2 separate regions of the Homo sapiens genome follow, and region 2 is linked to region 1. Evidence: promoter capture Hi-C in 16 types of primary human blood cells and fetal thymus (Javierre and others, 2016). All regions are on one chromosome and are shown on one strand. Each heading gives the region's core, a stretch centred on a gene start or on the middle of the fragment in contact. The rest is flanking DNA. Distances are from core to core; before and after follow the strand shown. Region 1 holds the start of SLC9A8 (solute carrier family 9 member A8). Region 2 holds the start of STAU1 (staufen double-stranded RNA binding protein 1).

What was found. Contacts are between HindIII fragments. The CHiCAGO score rates a contact against its expected background, and 5 or more counts as called.
Region 2: the fragment with the promoter of STAU1 here is called in contact with a fragment that was not itself captured in region 1 in 1 of 17 cell types (fetal thymus); the score reaches 6.3 in fetal thymus.

The regions. Positions count from the first base shown.
Region 1 is chr20:49,809,279-49,815,374 of GRCh38, reverse strand. It overlaps SLC9A8 (solute carrier family 9 member A8), which reads right to left and starts at 2,547. Exons shown (of 16, transcript NM_015266.3): 1 at 2,427-2,547; 2 at 186-367. The coding sequence starts at 2,452. RefSeq lists a silencer at 2,299-2,578 and an enhancer at 2,729-2,868. The HindIII fragment of the contact is 166 bases long and covers 3,767-3,932 here.
Region 2 is chr20:49,184,531-49,190,626 of GRCh38, reverse strand. It overlaps STAU1 (staufen double-stranded RNA binding protein 1), which reads left to right and starts at 2,293. Exons shown (of 14, transcript NM_017453.4): 1 at 2,293-2,511. RefSeq lists silencers at 2,020-2,689, 2,920-3,079 and an enhancer at 3,480-3,549. The HindIII fragment of the contact is 4,529 bases long and covers 1-3,467 here.

The DNA.
Region 1 (6,096 bases), core at 2,600-5,099:
GATTTTATAAAGAAGAGAGTTTCCTGTTAATGATGTTATAAACTGATCATGTTCCCTCAGTGTTTGATATGAAAACCAAATGGGAGGAAGACTTGACAGTCAAGAGGAGTGACAGGGTTAAACACACAGACCGAGCACACAGACACGGGATGGCAGATGATGGGGATGACAGTGTCCATATTCACCTAGGACAAGGAGGCTGAAGAAAATGGTCATGCCGCTGGACTGCTCCTCTTGCTGGGCCTGCTCCCCTGTCTGCACGGGGAGGATGGGCTTGCCAGGGGTCGGGAGCACCAGTTTCGTCGTGACAACCAGGGTGGTGTGGAGGGTGACATTGAAACCCTCATGAGTTGTATTGGGGAACCTCCTGGAGGACATAGAAAGCATAATTAGATAATGGAAAAGGGTCCCAAAACATCAATTCACACACCTCACACCAGAAAGAGAAGCTGTCCAAGAACTTTATGGGATTCAGAAGTCTTTAACAGGCAGGCCTTCGAGAGAAACTTACTAAGAAAATCCCTGCCTGCACAGCACAAGGGTACCAGTGGCCTCTGGTGCTTTTGAATACAGCCACTTAGAGGACAAGAACGGTAGGGAATCAGAGCTAGTATAGAAATGAAATGCTGCCTGCTCTTTGGCAAATACTGGGGGATTTAAAGGGAGGCAAACTGGAGTCTCATCACTTTCCAAGGTCCAACACTGTTTACTTAGCACCTTTGTTTCTCCAATTTACATTATTTTCCTGGCATTATTTCTGCAAGTTGAAGAAGCCACCTCAATTTGCCCAGTTGTTGATCTGGGCATGCCCTACCCTACTTTACAAAATCCCTCTCAGATTTCAAACGGCTCAAATGTCACCTCCTATTACCCCATCTTACCACACCCGAATTTACCCACTCCACTGCGTATGTTCCCACAGCTCTTTCACACTGTGCTGGGATTGTGAACTAGTACAATATTGCTATAATAACTGTTACTGTGACTACAAAAGTTATTATTTTCTGAGCACTGCTTTATTCCAGGAACTAGGTAACACACTACCTCTCATTTAATAGGTATAACATGTCTGATTGGGTATGATTACTTTCCGTTTTTTACTCATGCATAACTAAGGCTCAGGGAGGTTGCAAAACTTCACCAACATCTCAGTTAGTGGCAGAATCAAGCTGAAAACCCAAACTTGAAATCGCTGGGCTATATTGCCTCTTTTATTTTGTGCTGCTGAGGCTGTTTAGTGTCTGGGATGGAGCAGCTGCTCAATAAATAACTGATTACATGAAATGACCCCCACATGGCCAAGAAATATATTTGAAAAGTTATCAGGTGAAGGACTCCAGTATCAATGAAGGGGTTCCTTATTCATCTTCACATACTCATTCCACAAACAGTGATAGGGCATCTACAATCTGCAACAGACTCTGCCCTGCAGGTATGGAGATGACTTTTGGACTTGCCCAAAAGTACCTGGAGGACACAGCCCGTCCTTCCCCATCTCCCCTTGTCCAGCTAACCCCCTTCCTCTCTACACACCAGCCATGCTGCCTGTCACTCAAAAGCACTAAACTCTTTCTTGAGCCAGGCCTTTTGAACCTGATGTTATTTCTCCTATCCCTCATTCTGGTCATTCAAGTTTCTGCTGAATGTCACTTTTTCCTGAGTGGACTCCCCAACCTTAACTCTATTTTGCTTCCTTCAGAACACTTAACCCATTCATGCCAGAGGTTGCAATTTTTAGAACTGCAGACGTGAGAAAAATCAGACCTTGGCGATGACCTTGAGCAGTAGGATATAAATAACTCCCACATGCTTAGCGTTCCAATAATGGAACACTAGGCACAAATAACGTTAATTAATCACGATCTGAAACCACCTTGACTAATTATGGTCTTCTTTTCCCACTAGAATGGAAGCTCCCAGAGAGCGGCTCCTGGTCGGCCTCCTTTCCTACCACCTGCCCAGGGCCTGGAATTGAGTAGATGGCTAACAGTTAATGACTAAATGAAACTTAGTGAAGGAGAAAGACATGAAAACTGATCGTTATACAGGAGGCGACTGGCTACGTAGGAGGTGGGTGTGGAGAACCCGGACGACTTCCTGGAGGAGGCGGAAGAGGGCTCAGTAACCATGAGATTACCGAAAACTGGGAAAGTAAATATGGTTTGTATTTTCCGCAAGACAGCTCTCCGGGCCTGCGCTGGGCAGTAGATTCCCAGCTCGAGGGACCGATCTCCAGGGGAAAGCAAGGCCCACCTGGGCCCAGGCCCGCCCATCCCGCCCTCCTCGTAGGCACCGGCTTGGTCAGTCCTGGCCAACCAGCAAAAGAAGCTCCGCCTTCCGGGGCCGGAGGGCGGCCTGAGGCGCTCGCTGTCACCCGCCGGGGCCCAGCCCCGCCGCCTCCGCCGCCCGGGAAAAAGCCCACTCACTCCTCTTCCGCCATCTTCTCCCCCATCCTGCGGAGCTTCCAGGACCACCGAGTTCGGAGCCGCGGGGCTAGCAGGACCCGCTTTTGCTTCCGGCTTCCGCTGGAGGCGCGGGCGGGCGAGCGGGAGGCGGGGCCTCGGCCGCGCGAGGGCGGCCCTCTGTCCCTCCGTCTCAGTGGCCCGAGGGTGGGAGAAAGCGCGTGGGAGGATTGCTTCTTAGTCTCTCCCGGGGCTTTCGGGACGCTTGTCCGGCCTGGGCCACATGACCACCTGGGACCGAGAGATTCCGGCTTTTCCCCATCACAGGGCGGGGACGTTTTGGGGAAACTCCTCTGAGGTCACTGTGACTCACCCTGAGGGCAAGCAAGCACCCTCCACCCAGTGCCCTCGACTTCGCTGTGCTAAAAGAGTTTGAAAAAGGATGCCCAGCCTGCAGCCTAAGCGGAGAGACCCCAGGGGGACACTTCCCCACCCGAGCCTTAGTTTCCTTCGGCTGTGGAGAGGAATAACCGCCTGGACTTGGCAGGACTGTGCAGCATTCCATCTGTAAACATGTGTTGAGTTCAGACTATATGCCTAGCGTTAAAAAGGATGCTGATGATCTAGGGGTGGACCATTCATTAAGGGGTTCATTGATTCACCACATGCTTAGTAGATGCTTCTATGTGCCTAGCAGTGACCGGTGGGGTGGGGATGCAGGGAGGAACAAGGTGAGGTGAGAGGGGTAGGTGAGACCCCCATCGGGAGGACTGGGGCTGAGGACTTTGAACTTTATTGGCCGCTTCTGTTGCTACCTCCCTTCCTGATCCAAGGCACTCTATCTCATCTGGATAATTGCAACGGCTCCATTCAGGGTCTCTGACTCACCCCTGTTCCTTACGGACTTCCACACAGCAGCTTAACTCATCACTCCTCTGCTTAGACCCTCCAATGGCTTCCAATCTCCAGAGAAAAAAAAAACGTGGGGAATGTACAGGACTCAATCCTGCCCCCTTTTCCCCTCTGAAGTGTGTGGGAGGGGGGCATGGGGCTCTATATCTCCCCTCCCACACACTTTGACTTTCCACTATTGTCCCAGACTCACCAGGAATACTTCCACCGTTGCACTTACTGAGCCTTTATCTAGAATGCTCTTCTTCTGGGTAGCTCTTTGGCTCCCACCTCTCCTACGTTTGGCCTTTTATTTAACCCTTATCTTGTGTGTTAGACCTCCTTGACCACCCTACTTAAAATCCAAGGCCCCCCGCCTTCCCTAAACTATTTTTCCACATGACACCTAACCTACCATATGTTTTACTCATACACTTGTTTGTTAACCATCTCCCTCCATGAGAACGGAAGCTTCATGAATGCAGAAATTTTTGTCTGTTTTGTTCTCCATTTTATCTGCAATGCCTACAACAGTACCTGGCACATAGTAGACACTCAATAATAAATAATCATTGAGTAAATAAATCAGTTAATTCTAGCACACCTAGAAGGGTTTTGAACTGAGAAGTAACCTAAGCTTTGCTGCCTGTTGGGAGTTGACTGGGGATTGGCGAGAGAGAGAGGATGGAAGCCCCAAAGCCAGCAAGGAGGCTTTTGCAATAATCTAGGTGACAGCTGATGGCAGTCTGGATGAAAGTAATACGGTGGAGGTGGCAGGAATGGTTGGACTCCTGGACGCATACTGAAGACAAGGTTTGCTGACGGACTATGGCGTATAAAAGAGGAGTTAAGCATGGTGTCAGGGTTTTGGCCCCGAGGAACTGGGTAGAGAAGAAATCTGGCTCTAACCTTGGGTTCTCCATCCTCTGCAGTCTCTTAAGACTGCTAAAGCTGACTGAGAGAATGTCATCAGGATCCACCAATGTTTATTGAGTAATAATAAACTTGCTTCCTTCCTGCAGGTGTGGTGTTGGGCTATTGTTTCCTTAATTCTTTACATAGCTTTGAGGTAGATACCATCATTATCCACAGACATAGAGAAATCAAGGCACTTGCCTGCGGTCCCACAGCTAGCAAATGACAAGGCTGGGATTCAGGCACAGAGCCAGTGTTTTTAAACCAGTAGCCCTGCTACTCTCCACTGCCTTAATTTCTCTGGCTCTTAAATGGGACTAATAACCTACTCTCCTCCGTTAGCACAGAGCCTGGCGGGAATGACCTGGTCTACAAAGGATTGAGAGTGGGGTTCTCTCTGGCCACACTTGTCAACTGAGGGCTTGAGGCTACCATTTTCTACCAGCACCAATAAACCCCACATGGCTGGAATTCGCCAAGCTGGAAACTCCACATAGCTGGAATTCACTACTCTTCTCTATCCGTTGTCTTGCCTACTGCCCTTGGCCTCCTCTGGGCCTACCACTAACCATGAGGCTGCAGAGAACATTCTCTCATGCCCATGGGTGAGTCTTTGGCTCTTCTCACCTATTCCTGAGAATGAATCTAAAATCCCTGGTCCTTCCCCGAGGAAGGTGAATAAAGCCATTCAACATGCAGTTTCTGGGCTCCAATGCTGTGTCAGGCCGAGAAGGAGGCAGCATAAGGCACCACAAATTCTGGTGCCAGACAGTGCTGGTTCCCAACCCCTCCTCAGGACCTACAGTCTCCGTGACCCTGAGAGGCTACAGCACCCTCAGAGCCTCAGGGCCCCCTCAATTTTTTTTTCTTTTTTTCTTTAATAACGCTTCTCTTTAGAAGACTGTTACAAGATTAGAGAGAAAACTGCCTTTGCTCTCCATTGTCTCTGCCTAGACAGCTCTGCCCGCTATCTCCAGTCTTCTTGTTATTCATGTCTCAGCTTAAATGTCCCCTCCTCAGGGAAGCCCTCCCTGACCAGTCTCTGTAAAGAGTCAGACAGTAAATACTGAAGGCTTTGTGGGCCTTACTATCTCTGTAGCAACAAATCAACTCTGTAGTTTGCATGCAGCATAAATAATATAAATAGGCATAGCTGTGTTCCAACAAAACTTTATGGATACTGAAATTTGAATTTTGCATTACTTTCACATGTCATGAAATACCATTCTTCTTTGGATTTTTTTTTTTTTTTTTTTTTGAGATGGAGTGTCTGTCACCCAGGCTGGAGTGCAATGGCACGATCTCGGCTCATTACAACCTGCACCTCCCAGGTTCAAGCAATTCTCCTGCCTCAGCCTCCCAAGTAGCTGAGACTACAGGTATGTGCCACCATGCCCTGCTAATTTTTGTATTTTTAGTGGAGATAGGGTTTCACCATGTTGGCCAGCATGGTCTCAATCTCTTGATCTCGTGATCCGCCTGCCTTGGCCTCCCCAAGTGCTGGGATTACAGGCATGAGCCACCAGGCCTGGCCTGTTGTTGTATTTTAAGATGGAGTCTCACTCTGTCACTCAGGCTGGAGTGCAGTGGCACGATCTCGGCTTACTGCAACCTCTGCCTCCTGGGTTCAAGCGATTCCTGCTTCAGCCTCCCAAGTAGCTGGAATTACAGGCGTGTGCCACCATGCCCAGCTAATTTTTGTATTTTTAGTAGAGACGGGGTTTCGCCATATTGGCCAGGCTGGTCTCAAACTCCTGACCTCAAGTGATCCACCTGCCTCAGCCTCCCAAAGTGCTGGGATAACAGGCATGAGCCACTGTGCCTGGCTAAGAATTTGATCTTTAATGCTTTTATTAAACAGGGAATCAAATTGGTTACCATGTATATC
Region 2 (6,096 bases), core at 1,044-3,543, 620 kb after region 1:
ACCTACTCCTGGTCAGGTATGGTGGCCCACACCTGGAATAATCCCCCCAGTACTTTGGAAGATTGAGGCAAGAGGATTGCTTGAGCCTAGAATTTGAGACCAGCCTGGTCAACTTAGTAACTTAGTAAGACCCTGGGCAACTTAGTAAAACCCTGTCTCTATAAAAAATTAAAAAATTAGCTGGGAGTGGTGGCACATGCCTGTGGTCCCAGCTACTCAGGAGGCTGAGGTAGGAGGATTTCTTGAGCTCAGGAGGTTGAGGCTGCAGTTAGCTGTGCTCATGCCACTGCACTCTAGTTAGGTGACAGAGCGAGACCCTGTCTCAAGAAAAAAACAAAAAAGATGCGGAAGGAGGAAAGAGGGAAGAAAATTGAGACTGGAAGTCATAGACCCACCACTTTTGTCCCTATGGGTGATAGCAAAATCACCTTTGACGAGATTGTCTGATTGTGCGCAGCTTTGGGTTTAGGGAGACCTCTCTGCATCTGCTCCTTTACCCAAGGAGGTATGGGATCCACACTGCTTGGAAGTTAGAAAGAAAAGATCACTTTTAGCAGAGGGCTGGACAATATCTGAATGTTGCTTACTACTGTCTTGGATGGGCACTAAAGGGACGGTGAAAGTCCTTTGACTATTTTTGGTGTTCTGAAATTCAGTGTCATTGCACTTCACAAGAAGCAATGTAAGGAGGCAAGTGTCCTCCCAGGCTTCGCTAAGGCTCCAAAGCCTTGTTTGGAGGGGCCTCTTCAGACACAGCAGCTCGTATTTTGAATTTATATTCCGTTGGCAAGAGAGATTGAGCAATTATTAGATTGAGAGACATTTAAGAAAGAGAGAATTATTTTTAAATAGTGGGGCGGCAGTCCCAGAGTGAGCGGGAGAGAGAAGCTCTGTGCACCTGCAGTTCCTTCATTCATTCTCAGTTTCTTGGACCTCTCACAACGCGAGCATAATTTTCGCTGAGTGTGCAGAAGTTCAAGATTCTTTTTTTTTTTTTTTTTTTTTTTGAGACAGAGTCTCACTCTGTTGCCCAGGTTGGAGTGCAATGGCGTGATCTCGGCTCACTGCAACCTCCGTCTCCCGGGTTCAAGAGATTCTCCTGCCTCAGCCTCCCAAGTAGCTGTGATTACAGGCGCCCACCACTGCATCCGGCTAGTAGAGACGGGGTTTCACCATGTTAGTCAGGCTGGTCTCGAACTCCTGACCTCAGGTGATCCGCCCACCTCGGCCTCCCAAAGTGCCGGGATTACAGGCGTGAGCCACTGCGCCTGGCCAAGATTCTTTACTGGCCACCCTCTCTCCAACCTCCCATACAATACAGCTGCTAAAAACCACTTAGTTTATCTAGGTCTGGGTGAAATAAATAGTAATCTGGCACTTCTCGTCTTTTTTTTTTTTTTTTTTTTTTTTTTTTTTTTTTTTTTTGAGACCAGTGTCTCTTTGTCGCCAAGGCTGGAGTGCAGCGGCGCGATCTCAGCTCACTGCAATCTCCGCCTCCCGGGTTCAAGCGATTCTCCTGCCTCAGCCTCCCGAGTAGCTGTTTACCTACAGGCGCCCGCCACCACGCCCGGCTAATTTTTTGTATTTTCAGTAGAGACGGGGGTTTCACCGTGGTAGCCAGGATGGTCTCGATCTCTTGACCTAGTGATCCGCCCGCCTCGGCCTCCCAAAGTGCCGGGATTAGAGGCCTGAGCCAACGCGCCCGGGCCATTGTCTTTTATCTCACTACACATTTTTCAATTTTATTTATTGTGTATTTTACTTACACAAGAATGTAAGCTCCACGAGGGCAGGGATTTTTGTCAGTTCACCACTACATTCTTAGCTCTTGGAGCAATGCCTTGCATATGGCAAGCATTTAATGAACATTTACAGATGGAGGAAGAAACAACTGCAGGAAGGAGAGAAAGGAAGGCCAGAGGCAGGACAAGAGGAAGAAGCGACAGCAAGGAAGGAAAAAGGAAGTGGAGGAGGAAAGAAGGTAGGCTGGGTTCTCCCAGACCCGCTTCGAGTCCAGCAGGCAGCGCGAAACTCCCACCAGAACTACAACTCCCGGCAGGCCCCGGGACTCAGGACGGGCCGCTGCGGTCCAGGCGGGACAGGGCGCTCCTCCCGCTGGGCCCCCGGCGTGCCTTGCGAGCGCAGGCTCCGCCGCAGTGCCAGCCGGAACTTGTGGTTCGGACCGTGGGTGGGGGTGGGGCCGGGGCCGGGCCTGGAGGCGGGCGGGGGCCGGGGGCGGGCGCCTGCCCCTCCCCCGTCACTTCCTGCCGGGCTGCGGGCGCCTGAGCGGCTCTTCAGCGTTTGCGCCGGCGGCTGCCGCGTCTCTCTCGGCTCCCGCTTCCTTTGACCGCCTCCCCCCCCCGGCCCGGCGGCGCCCGCCTCCTCCACGGCCACTCCGCCTCTTCCCTCCCTTCGTCCCTTCTTCCTCTCCCTTTTTTCCTTCTTCCTTCCCCTCCTCGCCGCCACCGCCCAGGACCGCCGGCCGGGGGACGAGCTCGGAGCAGCAGCCAGGTGAGGCGGCCGGGCCGGGCCGGGCCTGGTGGGGCCCTCGCGGGCGCCGCCGCGGTGGGGAGGTGGGCGGCGGGTGGGGCCTAGGCCTCGGCGGGCCCGCGCACCCCTCCGCCTTCTCCCGGGCCTCTCTCTAGCCCGCGGGGCCTTCCCGGAGGAGGCGGGTCCTCTTGCGTTCCCTCGCCTCGGGGCGCCCTGAGGCCTGGCCCCGGGCGCCCCCATCCCCTCCAGCCCTCACCGGTGCCACAAACAGGTGCTGCGGCCGCCTTTCCTCGTCCCGCATGGCGCGCGCGGGGATGCCGAAGTTATTCCCGGGGCTGGGGCGCAGGCGGGGGGGGGGGGGGGTCCCTGCTTCAGGTCCCCGAGGGCTGGAGCCTCTCAGTGTCGCCGGCCCAGGTCTGTAGCTTAGTGGTTAAGAGCACGGCCCAGGTGTCCAAAACGGGTGCCGAACCCGGCTCTGCCCCGTTAGGCAAGACACTTAAAAAGTCTTTGTGTCTTGGTTGGAAAAGGGGCTGCTAATACCGTCCCTGCCTCTTAAGGTTCAGTGAAATGGGGCGTGTAAAGCGCTTATCAGAGTGCCAGACCCACAGCGTGTCCCAGTAAACCGTCTGCATAATTTATTAGCGTGATATGAAGGTATAATTTAATGGGCAGAGTGGATAGAAGTTGACCTACCTATCCGTTTGGGTTTCTTAGAGGCTGCAGTGTTCCGCGTGCCCATGTCCAGAGCCAGGGCATTGTTTTCAGTTGTTAACATCTGAAAGGGGCGTACGCTTAATTGGGACACTGTAGTTGACAGTCTGTAAACGATGGATGCTGTTTCTTTCCATCTCCGCTTAGGCAACTGCAGGATATTCACCATCTCCCGCAGGATGAGCAACCTGTCCATTTCTCCCCGCCCCGCCATCATCCAGCTTCTTCTTGTCATTCCATTTCTGGGAAAGTTGCTGGCAGAAGCTTCCCTTGAGTTGAGCAAACCTATCTAGAGCACTTGCTGTGTGTTGGGCTCTGAAGGGGGGTGTACGGAGATGGAAAAATTTGTCTGTCTTGTCTTGCTCTACACCTCGATAAGTTTTTTTTCACGGAAGCTTTGCTTATATTCACCCCTCCCTGTTGGCTGACTTTCCTTTTAAGCCCTTGCCCCGCCTCCGTGTTGCAGTATTGCTTGTGTGGAAGTTTTCTTCTGTTCCGCGAAGATACGTGCTTCAGTCTGTTCTGCCACTGTTCTTCGGCTGTGTGGAAGTTTTTAAGGTCACACTTCTCTTCTGCTTGTAGCTTTCATTGTTAAGAGCGTGGTGGAGTTAAATCAGGTTCCCGGTTGATTTTGGCGTTTCAGGAATCCGTGCTTACCAAGTGTAAATTGCATTGCTACTTGTTGAGGTAAAAACTAAAAATACAGTTGGAGTGTAGAGGGAGCAGTTTCGGTTATCCTGGTGACAGGTGGGATTTTTAGAACAGCAACTTTACTAAAACATACTGGGTTTTTAAAAATTCTGTACTTAGTTTTATAGGTGTACTCTAAGGAAATGCAACTTATGGGTGTTCAATTTTATATGAGTAAGGAGTGTGTGTTTACCTGAGTGATCCTCCTGTATCTTAGGATTGTTTTAGGCATTAAATTTCCTTAGTGAACTGAAACTATTTTGATTTATACCCATCTCTTAACACACATGCGGCAAAGTGGCCTCCTTGTTTTTGACATTTTCCTAGAATTTTCTGACAGTCTTACCATTGTTTGTAATTTAAAATGTTTGTTTGAATTTTTTTTTTTTTTTGAGACAGTCTCACGCTGTCGCCCAGGCTGGAGTGCAGTGGCGCGATTTCGGCTCATTTCAACCTCTGCCACCCTGGTTCAAAAGATTCTCCCGTCTCAGCCTCCCGAGTAGCTGGGATTACAGACGCCCGCCACCGCGCCGTGTTAATTTTTGTAGTTTTCGTAGAGACGGGGTTTTGCCATGTTGGCCAGACTGGTCTCGAACTCCTAACCTCGTGATCCACCCTCCTAGGCCTCCATAAGCAGGTTAGGCGCGGTGGCTCACGCCTGTAATCCCAGAACTTTTGGGAGGCCGAGGCGGGTGGATCACGAGGTCAGGAGATGGAGACTATCTCTTGAGCCTGGTGTGGTGGCGGGCGCCTGCAGTCCCAGCTACTCCCGAGGCTGAGACAGGAGAATCGCTTGAACCCGGGAGGTGGAGGTTGCCTGGGCGACAGAGAGAGACTCTCTCCAAAAAAACAAAACAAAAAAAACACATAAGCAAACAACTATACAAGCAGTATAAAGCATGTCTAATACTGCCATATCACAATGGCATATTTCAATAGGGAAATGGTATTTTAAATACCATTTTTTAAAAACCTTTTATTCTGGAAAACATGCGAAACTCGAATAGTATGGAGAACCCCATGTGTTAGTCACTCACTTAGCTTTGACAATTATTAACTCATAGCCAAGGTCGGTTTTGTTTCATGTTGTATCCCCCCACACAAACTAGATTATTTTGAAACAAATCTTAAACATTGTGTCACAACATTAGCGATTTTGACTTTTACCAGATTGCCCCAGATTAAGGTCACAAAATTTACTTTTAGTAGAATAATAGTTCTCATTTTTGTTTGTTGGGCTTCCCTTCTCTGTTTATACATGATTTCTGTACAGCAGAAAAGAAGAAGAAAATTAACTCTTGATCCAATGCCTTCAGCTCCTCAAAATCAAAATACAACCTTGCTGCTTTATTGTGTACAAAAGCAAAAATTCTTGAGCTATTAATGACTATAATTGAAAAGCGAACAAATACAGATTTCCCCAGTCCTGTTTTGGCAGAGACCTGCCTTTTAACCCACTTTAATAGAGATAACTTTGTGTCAAAGTTAAACTACAGTTAATAATTCATAATGAAAACTTAAAATGTTTCTTTACAGTAGTTGTGTAAAGATACTGCTGTTACCTTAGGTTAAGAATTAAGCAAAAGATAATCTTCTAACATAGAATTGTTTTCCAAAGTGCCCCCGTCTGCCCTATTTCCAAATAACAAATTTAGCAAATATGAATGAAACCTTAATTTTTGTGAATAGTATGAAATCACAGCATAAGTGTTCACGTTTTTCTTTCTTGTGTCTAAAGGATCTCTCTTACAATGGAAGTTGACAGGAATATTATAAATATTATAAATGTCTTTGTTGCATAACTTTCAAATTTCTGGTCGTGAATAGTTTTCAGCTTTTAGGTCTGTTATTTGAGTTTTGTAGGTGTACTTTGAGCTTGATCAGGTACAGTGGAAATGTTACATGTTATGTTTTAGTTATGACTACCTGGAAGATGGGGAAAGATACACCTCTTAAAATTGATTTAGGAAAGAAACGCCAATTTAGTATCTGGGAAAGGACACAACACATTTTTAAAAATGTGTAGTGCTTCCCATTAAGCTTAACGTAAAACTTTTAAGCATTGAGAATTGTTACCATAAATATAGTTTCTTGAGAATAAGTTGCTCTCTTTTAGGTTTCAGCCAGAAAGTCCATGTATATACAGATTACAGCAGGTCCTTGAATAATGTTGTTTCAAGATAATGTTGAGAAAAAAAACTGTCT